Regions from separate parts of the Homo sapiens genome. Here all the other regions are linked to region 1. The links are contacts of gene promoters, found by promoter capture Hi-C in human tissues and cell types (Jung and others, 2019). All regions are on one chromosome and are shown on one strand. The core of a region is centred on a gene start or on the middle of the fragment in contact, and the rest is flanking DNA. Distances in the headings are between cores, read along the strand shown.

Region 1 (4,920 bases), core at 689-3,188:
AATCACTTGAACCAGGGAGTCGGAGGTTGCAGTGAGCTGAGATTGTGCCATTGCACTCCAGCCTGGCAACAGAGTGAGACTCCGTTTCAAAAAAAAAAAAAATATGGAAAGGACCAAAATGTCCAACCTCAGAGGACTGGTTACATAAACATGGTGTGTGTGCACAGTGCAAAGGAACAAAAGAGAAACTTCCCTGATTTACAGTTTCAATGCAAGTAGCAGTTACCAGGTCCCACTGTTCCGAGATCTGAGGGGCCCAGGTTTCTGTCCCCAAGGCAGACATGGGTACACAGATGACCAGCAGCCTCCCCTTTCACCTCTTTCCAATTTGCTCTTCTCCCTCTAGCAAACGCACATGTTGGGGTCCTTCCGCCTGGAACGCTACCCCTTGTCCCTGGGTAATTCCCACTGTCTTTTCCATTTTACTATATCCTGGAATCCTTCCCTGATTTCCCTCTGCCTGTCTCGAGCCAGTCTGGGCTCCCAACAACCCTATCTAAGGGAATGTTGTTATCTCATTTAATAGGTAAGGCAATTGAGGCTCTAGGGATGTGAGAAGACATGTGGTCAGTGCCTGTCCATATCCTTGAGTCTTTCCAGTGAGTGACAGTTGACTCCCAGCTGCCAATGTCTGCCTCCCTGAGCCTGTATGTCCCGAGGCTTTTTGTCCTGGAACTGCAGAAAGCAGGTACATGCAACAGGACAGAAGTGCTGGGGAGTTGACAAACCCCCGGCCCAGAAGCCCTCAATCAATCACTGTGGTGTATAAATATCCCAGTTCCCATGCCACCTGGATAGTCGGGAGGCTTTGTTTCAGTATTTAAAAAAAAATACTCCTACTTTTGCTCATTCTTTGTTTTATTTTTATTTATTTTTTTGAGACAGTCTCCCTCTGTTGCCCAGGCTGCAATGCAGCAGCATGATCTCGGCTCACTGCAACCTCTGCCTCCCGGGTTCAAGCGATTCTCCTGCCTCAGCCTCCCAAGTAGCTGGGATTACAGTTGGCTGCCACCAAGACTGGCTAATTTTTGTATTTTTAGGAGAGGCGAGGCTTCACCATGTTGGCCAGGCTTGCCTCGAACTCCTGGCCTGAAGCTATCCACCCACCTCGGCCTCCCAAAGTGCTGGGATTACAGGCGTGAGCCACTGTGCCTGGCCTGCCCATTCTTTAAAATTGAGGAATAATATACATAAAGTACCTAACGGGCACAAATTTTAAAGGTATTGCTAAATAATTTTTAATGTTTATACAGGAATGTGATCACCACCTGGATCAAGATATGGCAACTTCCAGCACCCCGGCAGACCTCCCTCATGCCCTTCAGGGTCTCTGCCTGCCTCTAGAGGTGACCACAATTCTGACTTCCAGTTCAGAGGCATGTGTTTCCAAACTTTACGCAGAATTTTCCCAGCTGAGTGGTTCCCATCATCAGAGGTGGTGGCTGGTTTAATTGCACACTCTCTCCTGGCTGCCCTCCCTTCCTCATCTCAGTACCGATTCCCTACAGTGTTTCCTGGAATCATTTCCCAAATCAACTACTTGCACGCAAAGCTGTGTTCTGTTGGCTGGTGGAGGACCTCACTACCACAAATAACATGCCCAGGGCACTCAGCTGGTGGGCAGTAAGGCCAGAATAGGAGCCAGAGCCACCTGACCCAGAAGGTGGCACTGCCCCAGGGAGAGGGTCCGGTCTGTGTCCCCACTCCCTGTCCCCACTGTACCCAGAGCAGCCTGGAGCGTGGGTTTGCCAAGTCCAGCCAGCAGATGTGGCTTCTTACCATACTGCAGTCCCTTGTCGGTGATCCTGGCGACCAAGCCGGGGTTGGCACCCAGAGCCTCTGGGGTGGACGTAAGCAGCAATGCCAGCAGTATGGACGGCAGGGCTCTGGCCAAGGCCCCCATCCTAGATTCCCAGTGCAGTGGGCCAGGACTGTCCCAGCTGTGGATTGGGCCCAGGTCCCTTAAGTAGCCAAGGCTCGATGGCTGGGGGCAGTTCCTGAGGCTGGATGGGTTCCTGGGAGCGGGAAGGGGAGGCACAGGGACTGGAACCTGCTTGCGACATCACTGAAGTCATAAGGTCATACTTAGAAGCCAGTTTTCACTGCCCAGATCAGTGGATGAGGAAGCCTGACTCCTATGATCATCCCTGTCCACCCTCCCCACAGAAAGACCCCATATTCATCACTGTTCATCTTGCCTCATCTCAGCCAGTCTCTTAAGAGCTCGGCTAGGAAGGCCTGGTTTAGCAGATGAGGAAACTGAGGTTCAAAAAAGCCACATAGCTCCCTTGAGATCTCACCCCCAGCAGAGGGCAGGGTTGAGAGTGAAGCTACATCTGGCACCAACCAAACTCTCTTTTTTAAAATATATTGGCTCGTTTATTTAAAAAATAAATGTTTCCCCCAATGGGAAAACAGTGTTTCTCAAACCTTGCTGGTGGTGAAATTTTCTGGAAGGCAATTGGCAAATGTTTAAACAGTTGCATGCCCTGTGACCCAGGAATTCAATTTCAGGGACTTGCCCTTAAATACATAATTGAGTCAGTGTGCCAGTAAATCACTGCTCCAAGATACCACTGCTATGCTGTGGGAAACAGGACAGGAGAAGTGAGACCCAACCTCATGTATCCACCAGAAGGGCATTGGTTAAATGAATTATGACATGCCCCTTAAAGTGAGGCTGCAGAAATAAAGGTATTTCTTGGCAAGGAAAGGGATGTCATGAGGCATCCGTTTCCGATGGCACCATAGAGTAAGGTTCTATTTTGGGGGGTTCAAAATAGGCTTCTATGTTCAACAATCTGGAAAATATTTAGCAAGGAGTCATGAGGCATTGTCTCTGGTTGTGGGGGTAGAATTATAAGTGTTAAAAAAGTTTTTGCTTGTTGATACGTACAATTTTTTTTTCTTTTTTCATTTTTTGAGACAAAGTCTACTCTGTTGCTCAAGCAGGAGTCCAGTGGCATGAACATCGCTCGCTGCAACCTCAACTTCCTGGGCTCAAGTGATCCTCCCACCACAGCCCCCTAAGTAGCTGGGACTACAGGTGTGAGCCACCATGTCCAGCTAATTTTTTGTATTTTAGTAGGGACGAGGTCTTGCTATGTTGCCCAGGCTGGTGTCGAACTCCTGAGCTCAAGTAAGCCTCCCGCTTGGCCTTCCAAAATACTGGGATTATAGACTTGGGCCACCATGCCCAGCCTCTAAAATTTTTATTTTCTTGGGGGTATGGTCCCGGGCATATATTCGCAGTAAGTAAAGATAGTAAAATTTCATTCTGGAAAACAAAATTTATAGTACAGACTGTGTTTAATTTTTAGAGTTTTGCCCCAGCCCTGCTTACATTTGTGAGTTCTGCTTTGCCCTCACCCCCAGGAAGCCTTCCCTGACCACTCCCATGCTTCTCTGGATTCTAGAAAGGGTCCCCTCTGAGGTCCCAGAACCCTTTGCGCTTTCCCCACCACAGCATTAACCACTCTGCTTTTTGATAATTGTGGTCCTTTAAAAATATGCCCACGAATTCTTTGATATTCCTTCCATCAAAAGGTAATGTTTCTGCCCCCTTCCCTTGAAATTGGGCAGGTTTTCATGATGGCCTCAACCAACTGAATGTGGTGGGATTAACAGGGTGACTCCCAATAGGTCACAAACAGCACTGGCAGGCACTGAGGTTAAGATCAGAATGTCCCACGTTAAGCACAGGGAACCCCACAGTCCAGGCCTCTCTGCTCCTCTGTACCGTGTTGCTCCTGTCACTGGGGCTGAGGTTTGTTGGGATCCTCATCCGTCCCTCCCCTCAGTCCCCACACCACCAGTCTGATGGCTCCTTGCAGGCACGGCTGAGTCTTCCATTTCCTGAGATCCTTGCAGCACCCAGCAGAAATTGGAAAGAAACTGATATTTATTGAGCACCTACTATGTGCAGGCGCTGTGCTGGTTAAGCTGCACGTCTCCTCTCATCCTTGCATCAGCAACCCCAGGTGGATATTTTAGTCTTGTCTTGAGATGAAGAAACTGAGGTTTGGCAGGGTGAAGTGATGTAGGCTGCAGTCACCCAGCAGGAATTTAAGTCCAGGTCTGCAGGATGCCATTCCAAAACTCTGGTCAGGGCAGGGTTCTCTTGGGAGGCAACAAGCTGAGCAGAGGCCTCAGGGTAAGGAGCCAGCCTTTGGGAGGCTTTGGAGCAGGAAAGGGCTCACAGGTGCATCCCCAGTGTGCCTAGGGGCCTTTGCTTCCTGGACCTCAGCCTGCCCAGGAGGGGAGGAGAGTGGGGGAGGACATTCTGGAGCATAAGGATCTTATGGGGACATAGATGTCACTCTTCCTCTGGCAGCAGTTTAAGGATGTCCCTGGCTGGGAGTCATTTGCAGGGGTGGGAATTTCCCACAGCAGCAATCTTTGGACCTTAGAGCTGCCACATGGCCCAGGCCTGGCCTCCACCCCTGCAGGTGCCCACTGCTGGCTAAGGTCCCTGCTGATGGCCCAGGACCCAGCAGAGGCCTCAGGGAGCAGCACGACCCCACTGCTGGTCAGAACCCCTGGGCCTTTCTCCTACCAGGCTGTCCATCCAATTCCACAAAAGCAACAGCTGCTACCACTCTGGCCACCACTCAGTCTTATTGCAGTGAAATAGGGACTCTTTTAACAAGGCTGTTTATTGTGTTCTTGTGCAGGAGAGGGCCCCCAGAAATGGCAGTGCATCAAATGATGGACAGGCGATCATAAAACTGTCCCTCTGACATGATAAGTGGCCACGAATGGCGCCAAGAGGGAGAGGAGTTCCCTAACAGATAGTTGACATCATCTGGAGCCAGCAAACCACAATTCCCTGGTAAGGTCGAGCAGAAGGGCAAATGTTGGAGTCTGACTTGTATATGACCTTTTTCTTGCGGCGACGGACCAGTAAGGGAAAATCACCCC
Region 2 (4,920 bases), core at 1,709-4,208, 500 kb after region 1:
GAAAGCTAAAGCTTCTCTGACCACCTTCTGTGTGCCAGGCCCTGTGCAAGCAGCTTTCATGCATAATACATTCACCGACACCATATCCCTACATACATAACTTCTCAAAGTACACAAACTGGGACATACACCTTAAACACAAAACAAACACCATCCAGAAAGAAAATAAGGATAGGGCAGTTCAACTGTTTGCCCACAGTCGGAGAACCAGGATAAAGCCTGGCTATAAAGCCCACGCTCTTCCTCTCACACCCTCCACTCGTGGAAGGTACCCTCTTCTCTCCCCCTTCACTTGGCTTCCCACTGCTGCTCCTTTGCTGTTTCACTCCAGGCTGGAAATGCCCTAGATATCCCTACCTTTTTAGGTTCAGCACGAATGCTCAGCCACAAAACTAGCCCCCCTAGAGTTTAGGGTGACTCTAGCCTTAGATGACCTCTCCCCACTCCCCGGATCCTCCAGCCCTTGTCTGCGGCACCACCCCTAGGCCCATTCTTTTCTTGGCACTTTTGCTTCTCACCCCCAGCTGGTGCCTGGCCTTGCACATTCCCAGAGCGGGCACCTCATCAACATTTGCCAAATGACTAGATTCTCTCCAGTGACCTGGGCAACTGCAAACCATGGGCACGTGCACTGTGCCCAGAGAAGTCTGAAGTTCACAGGGAAGGTGATGGCTGAGACAATAAAAATACCAATACTTGAGCCTGTTATCTTAGGTTTTTTGGTTGCAGACTTGGTGAGGTATGTGAGAGATTATTCACTACTGATCTGATAGTCAAAGTCTTCAAAATGCCTGAAAAATAAGCATTCAATTCAAGTCGACAAATATTTGCTAAGCTCCCAATTGGTGTAGGACATTCAAATTTAATGGGGGCAAGGAGACAAACTGTCTGCAACCTCAGAGAGAAGACGGCATGAGGCAGAGGTGAAAAGGAGGTCGTATTGTTCTAAGTCACTTTACACCTGTGAGGCGGCTTCATCTGCTAGGATGGCGCCTGAGTGCTAGCAGCAAACACTGCTCACAAACGCATCCCTCACCCCTACCTGCCCTGGCTCTCTGCGTAACACTGAGGCTGCTGAGCACTAATGGCCTTGGAATGTTTGCCAGTGCCCAGCAAAACGGCCTTGGCATCAAGGAGACAGATGTTTGTCAGGGAACAGCACGGCCTTGGTGCCCGTGGCACACAGCAGCTCTGTGAATGCTGGGAGAGTGGCTGCAGCGATTACTCTCCGTCAGTGCTAATCAATTTCACACCCTCTTCAATGCTGATAATAGATAATCTTTTGGGAAGCAGGCCAAGTTTCCTAACAGCTATGTGCAAACTGCTCCCTGACACCCAGCCACTTACTAGGTCTCCCTCAAAAAAAGTCTAAGCTGCACCTCAAATAAAGCATCTGATGGTGCCAACCCTCTCTTCTGCTAGGCGACTCCTTCTGGCAAGGAGGACGCTCTCAGGAAAAGGACTGCTTACTAAAAAGGCTTACTAAAAGGCTTACTAAAAAATTACACAAGAATTCCAAAGGAAGCTAGGAAATTCTAGCAGCAGCAGCGGCGGGAGCTTCTACTTACTGAGCAAAGTACTTTCTATACTTTATGCTTAGTCTTCATAATAACCTTTAACGCGAGGTGTTTTGTTTTTATTTTTTGAGACAGGGTCTCGCTCTGTCACCCAGGCTGGAGTGCAGTGGCACAATCTCGGCTTGTTGCAACCCTTACCTCTCAGGCTCAAGTGACTCTCGTGCCTCAGCCTCCCGAGTAACTGGGATTACACGCGTGCGCCATCATGCCCAGCTAATTTTTGTATTTTTAGTAGAAATGGGGGTTTTGCTTTGTCGGCCAGGCTGGTCTCAAATTTCTGACCTCAAGTGATCTGCCCGCCTTGGCCTCCCAAAATTTTTGGCCTACCCTAAAAAGGTAGGGATGTCTGGCCTCCCAAAGTTCAGGTGTGAGCCATTGTGTCTGGCCCAAAAGGGAGGTGTTTTTATTCTAATTTTACAGATGAGAAAACAAAGCTTAGGAAGGTCACCTCGATTATCCAAAATCTCAGAGCTAGAAGTGGCAAGATTACCTTTTCTACTAGACCGTTGCACCTCTATCTAGAAGACCAGTCAGTCACTGACCAACCTATCACTGCGCTTTTAATTCATTCCATTGTCCAAAAATGGCAGAGTTACCAAACGTTGTTTAACTTAACCTGAGGGAATGAGGGAAAACATGAAGCTTGAGGGGTTGGATCACCTTGGCTAGTATCACTTTATAGGCCAGAAACTGAGGCTACATGAGGCATAGTGACAAGCAGTGATTTAAAGGTGGTGCTTGCTCTTAAATCCTAGGTCCCCTGACTCCCAGGTCTTCTCTTTGCCACCCCTCAAAACCTCCCTAGCAGATAACATCGGGGATTCTGTCAGGGCTGGAGTTCTAACTGTCTCATGGCTTTTTCCTTACAAAAGTCCAGGGAATTTCAAGTTGTTTCTAATTATCATTCAGATAAAGAGAAGGAGTACATTATTCCCACAATTTAACAACCACTGAGTGTCCTTCACGTCCAAGTTACTGTATAGGGTAGAAAAGATGGAAACGGAAAGTTTAATTAAAGAACAAAGGGGTTGGGGTGAATTGGAATGAAAGAATTGTGGTGGAACATGCTAATATCTAAAGTGCAGCCTCAGAATTTAGAGTCTCTGCCTTTTATCTTGCAGTAGTATCACTGTATAAAAGAAGAAAGCCCCAGTTAATCAATTCAATCAATCCGCAAACTTCTGAGGACTTACTCAGTTTAGGGATCATAGGGAAATCACAAGAATGAAAAGCACAGCTACCTATCTGCTGGTGTTCATGAATGATACTAGCCAAGGTGATCCAACCCCTCAAGCTTCATGTTTTCCCTCATTCCCTCAGGTTAAGTTAAACAACCTTTGGTAACTCTGACATTTTTGGACGATGGAATGAATTAAAAGCGCAGTGATAGGTTGGTCAGTGACTGACTGGTCTTCTAGATAGAGGTGCAGCAGTCTAGTAGAAAAGGTAATCTTGCCACATTTTATGAAAGGGAAGAGGTGGATAAGAAGTGGCAAAGAGAAACAGGACAGATAACAAGGTCACTGTCTCCCCACATCCCCACAGCCCTAGTCTCTCACTCTGGCCTGAGGCATGCCCCGAGGGAAAATGCTGGTGTAATTCCCAGTGCAACACGGTAGCCTTAGCTGGATGATCCCAACACGGGAAGGTGGGGAGGGCTATACTAAAATCAGTCCTTCCACCAGTGAAGTTCAAAAGCCTCAAGTGTATCTTTAAGAAAAGACTGAAAAGGATGGAGTGATGCAGCAAAACAAGATCACAAGGAAAATGAGGTCTCCTGTAGACTTGGAAAAAAGTAAGCCAGGCGTCATTTTATAATGTGACTGAAGACTTGAGAAGTGTCTTGTAGGGGAGCGAATACAAATTGGACATTAAACAGTGATAGGAAAACTTACCCTGATTAAGGAATACAGATGGAAAGCTACAGTGGCCAGAGATGGTGGAGAACAAAACGGAAGGAGGTGAAAAACACAGAGGGTGGGATAACACCATAGTAAGCACAGCCCCTCCAGAAAAAACATCCAGCAGGTGTCACTTCTCTTAGCAACAATCAACATGAGAAAACAAGGGTCAGCCCTTCAGAACCTGCGGTTTGGCTTGGCTGCAATGCATCTGAGCTTCCGTTCTCTAGGTCTCCAGTTTTCCATCTGTAAATGGGGTAACTGGATTCCAGGACCATTCAGTTTCCTTCCAGCTCCTCTACGCTGTGATCACCCTTCCTCAGCATGCCTCCTTCAGGATTTCAGAAGCCAGCAAGTGTGAGTACTAAGACATGCTCTGCCAACATGGTACCAGGTCACAGCCTTGTACTTTGGCCAGATTTTCGAAGAGAAGCTCTTGTCAAGGGTGCCTGTGCTGTCCACCCAGACTCCCAGGTCAGACCTGGATGGACGCTACACATACTTCTTCCTGAAAGGGTGTCATTCGTGTCAGAAGAGCAGTCGTAACCACTTGGCAGACCATCATCTGCTCTACTTCTATAACATGTTAGATGGCACTGCTGCCCTTACCTATCCTGTGGGGTGATGGGAGGAACACAAGGGACCCAAACGGAGGGCAAGTCAATAGCTGGCAAAAGTGAGGCAGGGATACATACGTGTTTTTCCCCTTCAATCTTCTTGTCCGCCACCTGCATTGCACCCAGATATTTAAAATGCAACTCCATTAGTCTGTCAACCTGAAAGAGAGATTTCACAGGCTTGAGTGAGAAGGAAAGACAACGCACAGCAAGAGAACAGTGGCACTCCTATTCATCTCACTGTCGCTCCCTTACAAAGGGAGACCCGCTCTGGCACTCCTTACAGCGGATGAGAGAAGCTTTGCTTAGGGACACATCAGGAATGGATCAAAGGGCTGGGGCAGAACAAAGCAAACACTTAGGATGAATGCAGTTTGAACCAGGCCCATTCCCGAAAGGAGGCTATGCATTCTCAGCCCTTCTAGAACTCCCAGGAATGCACGTTGTTAAAAACAAATAAATAGATAAAAATTCAAGTCCCTTCTTGCCAAGAGAAGGAGCTTGAAGTTACACACTTGATATTCACTTAGAACTTTACAGAAATTTCTTTTTTCAAACTGAAACCTTTCATGTTCAGATTCTGCCCCAGAGCTGATCTTTTTTTAAAAATGCCTGAGTAAAATCTTTTTAGTTGCTTTTGAGTCAGAAGAGAGAGCAAGAAAACCTCCTTCAGCAACTTTAAAAAAGGCCCTGACTTTTGCTTGGCAATAACTTAAAAATCAGTTTTAAGTTGAGCAAAGTCATGCTTCAAACATGGCTTGAGGAACACTCAGTGGATTTGAAAAAGTTTTGTTTTTTCCCCAAGACTCCAAAATGACTGAAGAA
Region 3 (4,920 bases), core at 1,355-3,854, 350 kb after region 1:
GCAAGATGAGGCAGAGAGAAAAGATCTGTAGGGACACAAAATGAAGCTGGTAATGCACCAGATACCGTTGGCCAAAGTAGTTTGATCTTCTGTAAATTCTTCAGCATATACTAGACCAAATTAAAATATTAAAAATTGTTAATGTTTTTTTCCCAAAACAAAATGCACAAAATGATACGTGTGTGTGTGTATGTATGTGTGCCAAAGAAAGAGGGAGATTAGGCCAGTCGCGGTGGCTCATGCCTGTAATCCCAGCACTTTGGGAGGCGGAGGCAGGTGGATCACAAGGTCAGGAGTTCAAAACCAGCCTGGCCAAGATGGTGAAACCCTGTCTCCACTAAAAATACAAAAATTACCTGGGCGCAGTGGCAGGCGCCTATAATCCCAGCTACTCAGGAGGCTGAGGCAGGAGAATTGCTTGAACTCGGGCTTCAGAGGTTGCAGTGAGCCAAGATCGTGCCACTGCACTCCATCCAGCCTGTGCGACAGAGTGAGACTCCATCTCGAAAAAAGAAAGAGATTAAGGGAGAGGGAGGTGGTATTGCTAAATCTTATCCAGATGTACTGCAGGGCGGGGTTTGGTGAGAATTAATAGGTTGTCTGAAATAACAGCAAGCATAGAAAAATGAAAAAAAATAAAGATGTGTACACAATAACTGAGGCTGCTTTCCCCATGCGCAGACACGATGATGACACTGAGGTCTATAGAAGCTGTGCCATTCAGCTGAGGGACCTAAAATGAGAGCCTTGTTCTCTGCAAAATGAGCAAACACTGTGCTGGTTATGCCTTGCTTACCAATTTTTAAAGAAATTCCTATTATCCTGTATACTCAGTCTTGTGCAGCAGGGCAAAACATTTCAATATGTTCTGCTAGAGAAAGTTTAAAACAAGACATGCAAAGAAACTATCTGTTCTGAAAGATAGAATGAGGGTGATGTGCATAAGAGATTGTGCAGCTGAACAGAAGGAACACCGAGTCGGCTGCAACTTCAGGGACCCTGCCTTGGTTCAGCCCAGGGACCTCGGCCCAGTCACTAACCTCCTGATGCCTGCATGTGGCAGCAGCTGGACCATAGTATTTGTGTTTGCTCAGCTAGCTAGAGTTTAAAGCATACATATTTTCTCAAGGGATGTTAGGAAGATTCAAGAAATGATCTATGTGAACTGCTTTAAGCTCTTCTCTTTTTTTTTTTTTTAACAAAAATGGGAGGGAAATCAAGATATTAATCATATTATTCATCCAACCCAAGATTCCTTTGAATTATTCCCCATGTAATCTGTATTTATGGGTAGAAGCAGCCATGCCTTGGGAGCAGAGACCTCCAAATTCATAACTGTCAGAATCACAAACCATGGGCAAGGAATTAACAGCAGTAATTCTATTTTTTTTTTCCCCCAAGCAGAGACCTAGATGAAATCGAATTACCAAGCATTCTTTAGCTCTCTTGCTGCCTTGGCAATGTTCACTCACCAGGTTGGAGGCTGTTTCTGCAGGTTTTACGTACCCTGGGAAGCAAGTGTGGTGACTTTCTTCGCAGCCGGTTCTGCAAAGATGTCCTGCCAAAGCTGGCTGGCTCCCTAGTCACCCAGGCCCCCATCAGTGCCAGGGCTGGACCAGTTTACTCGCACACGCTGGCCTTCAAGTTGCAGCTGGCTGTCTTACAGGGCCTGGGCCCCCTCTGTGAGAGACTGGACCTAGGTGGGTACCAGGCAGTTCCACCTGAACACACACACTTAGCATCTGTCTCACCCCTGCCATCATGCCCTCTGCTCAGTCGTGCCCCCCTCCCCTCCCCTCTGTGTACCTCCTTCCGTCTTATTTTGGCCTCATTTGTCCATTTATCTTGATGTGTTCTTTGGCGGGATGGAGTAGAGAGCCCAGAGCATCTTGCCTAGCTGTTGCAGTTTCTCCAGACACAGTTGGTCACTGCTTGTCCCAAATGAAGTGTAAGGGCTGATGCTTGTTTTGTTTTTCTTTTCTGCAGGTGAGGGTGACCTGAATAAAGTGGCTGATGCCTGCTTGATTTACCTCAGTGTCAAACAGCCCGTGAAATTACAAGAGGCTGCCAGGAGGTACGTCTGCCTGATCACCCGCATCCCTTTACGTTTGTTCTAAATTACAGATGATTTGCTAATGGCAAGCAGAGTTGAGGCATCTCTGCTCTTTTCTCTGTCACCCTGCCAGGTTAAGATAATTCTTTAACTGTGCCAGCACTAGAGATGGTATTTTTACTAGATGTGTTTCTCTTTGCCAGTAACCTTTTCCTCTGCTGCAAAGTCAGCAACAATTCCAGAGGGTCAAGAAGCAGAAAGACGGTGTGCTAGAGAGGACTCAGCACCCTCCTGGTTGGAGGGGAATCTGCTTCTAGGCCTGGAGACCAGGTGCCTGGCACTTCTTCATGCCTTGGCTTCTTCAACAGCAAAGTGAAAGTGCTGGGTTCCTGATATGGCATATGTCGACTCCACGGCAGGTCTTAGATGGGCATCGGTGCCATGAACCCTCACAAGTGCAAAGCAAAATTGTTTGTGTGCAGGCAGGTGCACATGTGCCTTTTTCTAATAGGAACCATTCATAGGTTCTAATAGGAATCTGTGACCCGAAGAACCTTAAGAGTTGCCAGACTAATGGCTTAAAGGGCCTTTTCTGATTCTGAAACTAGATGATTCCAATTTCTAAGAGTTTGACCATGCTTATTTGAGAAAAGCTGTATCACCTCTAGGAGAAGAAGCTGTTGCTGGTTACTTTAGGACTAAGAGCTAAAACTCAGCACAACAGCATTCCCCAGACATGAGACCCCAAATCTACTCTGCCCCTCTTCTCCAAGCTTTCCTTCCAGGTGGGAGCAGCCTGCATCCTGGAACTGCCATCCCAGGGTAGGTCTGCTGCTGGGGCGAAAGCTGGGCCTGGCACTCTGTGCCGCTCTGAGCCCTGCAGCTCCTTCAGCCTCACCAGCTTCACGCCTGCAGCGGAATCCCTGCATCTTCCTAGCTTCTAGAGGCACATCTCTGATCCTCTTCAGTGGGGTGGGAGTTAGGAGTCAACTCATTCCCTGAGGAGTGGAAAGGCTGCTCTGACTGTGCAGTGAGGAGAGCCAGCTTGCTCCTTAGAAACCTTGCACTCCCTGGGAGTGATGGTAATATCTTCTTGAATTGATTTATTGTCCTTTGCTGTTTTTTGCTCTTGATTTCCCATTTCCTTTTTTCTTCCTGTCCCTTTCCCGTCACATCCCTTAGTCCCAGAATCAGTCATAGTTTCATGAGCACAGGGGCGCATCCTAAGCAGCTTCTGTCCCCAGGCATTTTTATTCCGTACAGAATCAATTTAGGGTGAAAATAGTCCTCCCTGGGCGGTGCCCCTGGAGCTGATTGTGCTGTGACTTAAAGTGCAACTCAAGAACATAATGAGTTTATCTTGAAGTAAATCCTTTTAGATGCCTATTACAACCAAGAGTTAAAGGTCTGATTTTCACATTCCCCATCCATTCTATTTTTCCTACACCCACTCCATCCCATCCTTCAAGTTTAGAACCATCAAATAAGCTAATATTCTCAATTCATTATCTTTTCATTTCTAGTTCTCTTTTTTGCTGCTGAAAGCAATTAAACCCGGAATTGGACCTTGCTGAATCTTGAGCTGGTGTTCAGGGAGCCTCAGGTGGAGGAACACGCAGCCCCACCACTTGACCGCAGCTCCCTTTGTTTGCTCCAGCACATTCCGTTCAAGTGTTGAGTCAGATGGCCTCCCTCCTGATGGGCAGGGAGGGGGAGGAAGAGCTAGGTGGATTGCTTCACACATGTCACTTGCAAACTTATCTTGAAGTTGGGAAAAAAAATCAGTCTTGATCCTTGATCAAGAGCTGATTTGGCATCTTGATGCTGAAATTAATAAGCTCTCTAAGTGGGAGAAGAAGCCTGAGACAATAGGAAACCTGGTCTCTCTGTGAGCCTCATTACCGCATGGAGAGAGGGGTGGGTGGGTGGGCCACTTAGTATGGAAAAGTCATACCTGGCAGCTGGGTGCGGTGGGTGGCTTACGCCTGTTATCCCAGCGCTTTGGGAGTCTGAGGCAGGCAGATCACGAGGTCAGGAGTTCAAGACCAGCCTGGCCAACATGATGAAACCCTGTCTCTACTAAAAATACAAAAAGTTAGCTGGGCATGGTGGCAGGAACCTGTAATTCCAGCTAATTGGGAAGCTGAGGCAGGAGCATCACTTGAACCTGGGAGGCGGATGTTGCAGTGAGCCAAGACCGCACCACTGTACTCCAGCCTAGGTGACAGAGTGCAGTCTGTCATACCTACTAGTACTGAGGAACCAAGTCCCCTGCATGAGATGGAGTCCCATCTCAGCACATGGCCCTGCCATCCATCCTGTTGTTTGTTCTTAATTCTTCTCTTTCCTTCACACCCTACATCCATGACCAAAAGTAAAGCCCGCCTACCTCACTTGGAAAATTGCTCTCAAAACGACACCTCCAAACCACTAGGCCAGGCCAGGCCACCATCATCTCCCACCAGAACAACAGACCTCACCACTGGTCCCACTTCCAGTCCTGCCCCTCTAGGTATTCTCCATACTGCAGTCAGAGTGACACACTTACACACACTTACCCTCATGGGAGAAGAGAAAGCTGTGTTCGTTGCAAGGGCCCAAGTGGGAACCTTGGCTTAGTATTCAGAAAAGCCAGAGGTAGTGAGTTTCCGACCCTAGGCAGATGACCAGCTTGCTTTGGAAGTGGCTCTCCTGTCTGCCAGAGGGCTGGTGAGGGAAGCTCTCAGGGCAGGAGGCTGCTCCCAGGCCTCCTGTCTTCTGGAAGGAGAGGGATGTGCACCAGCCCTGTAGAACAGCCATGTCTGTGGGCCCCTCTGGCAGGTGGGCTTAGGACCTCCAAGGGGCGCCTTCATCGAGTTGGGGTGGAG

The links. Contacts are between HindIII fragments. The study calls those that stand out against the background at their distance.
Region 2: a fragment that was not itself captured here is called in contact with the fragment with the promoter of LBP in region 1 in 3 of the 25 tissues and cell types used here (IMR-90 fibroblasts, dorsolateral prefrontal cortex and pancreas).
Region 3: a fragment that was not itself captured here is called in contact with the fragment with the promoter of LBP in region 1 in 1 of the 25 tissues and cell types used here (mesenchymal stem cells).

Annotation. Positions count from the first base shown.
Region 1 is chr20:38,343,500-38,348,419 of GRCh38, reverse strand. It overlaps LBP (lipopolysaccharide binding protein), which reads right to left and starts at 1,938. Exons shown (of 15, transcript NM_004139.5): 1 at 1,780-1,938. The coding sequence starts at 1,903. RefSeq lists an enhancer at 3,885-4,662. The HindIII fragment of the contact is 17,182 bases long and covers 1-4,920 here.
Region 2 is chr20:37,841,673-37,846,592 of GRCh38, reverse strand. CTNNBL1 (catenin beta like 1) reads right to left here. Exons shown (of 16, transcript NM_030877.5): 13 at 4,174-4,254. Among named protein-coding and RNA genes, the nearest start is that of VSTM2L, 59 kb to the left of the region's middle. The HindIII fragment of the contact is 3,893 bases long and covers 1,012-4,904 here.
Region 3 is chr20:37,993,529-37,998,448 of GRCh38, reverse strand. It overlaps TTI1 (TELO2 interacting protein 1), which reads left to right. Exons shown (of 8, transcript NM_001303457.2): 6 at 1,496-1,700; 7 at 1,987-2,074. Among named protein-coding and RNA genes, the nearest start is that of TTI1, 37 kb to the left of the region's middle. The HindIII fragment of the contact is 9,453 bases long and covers 1-4,920 here.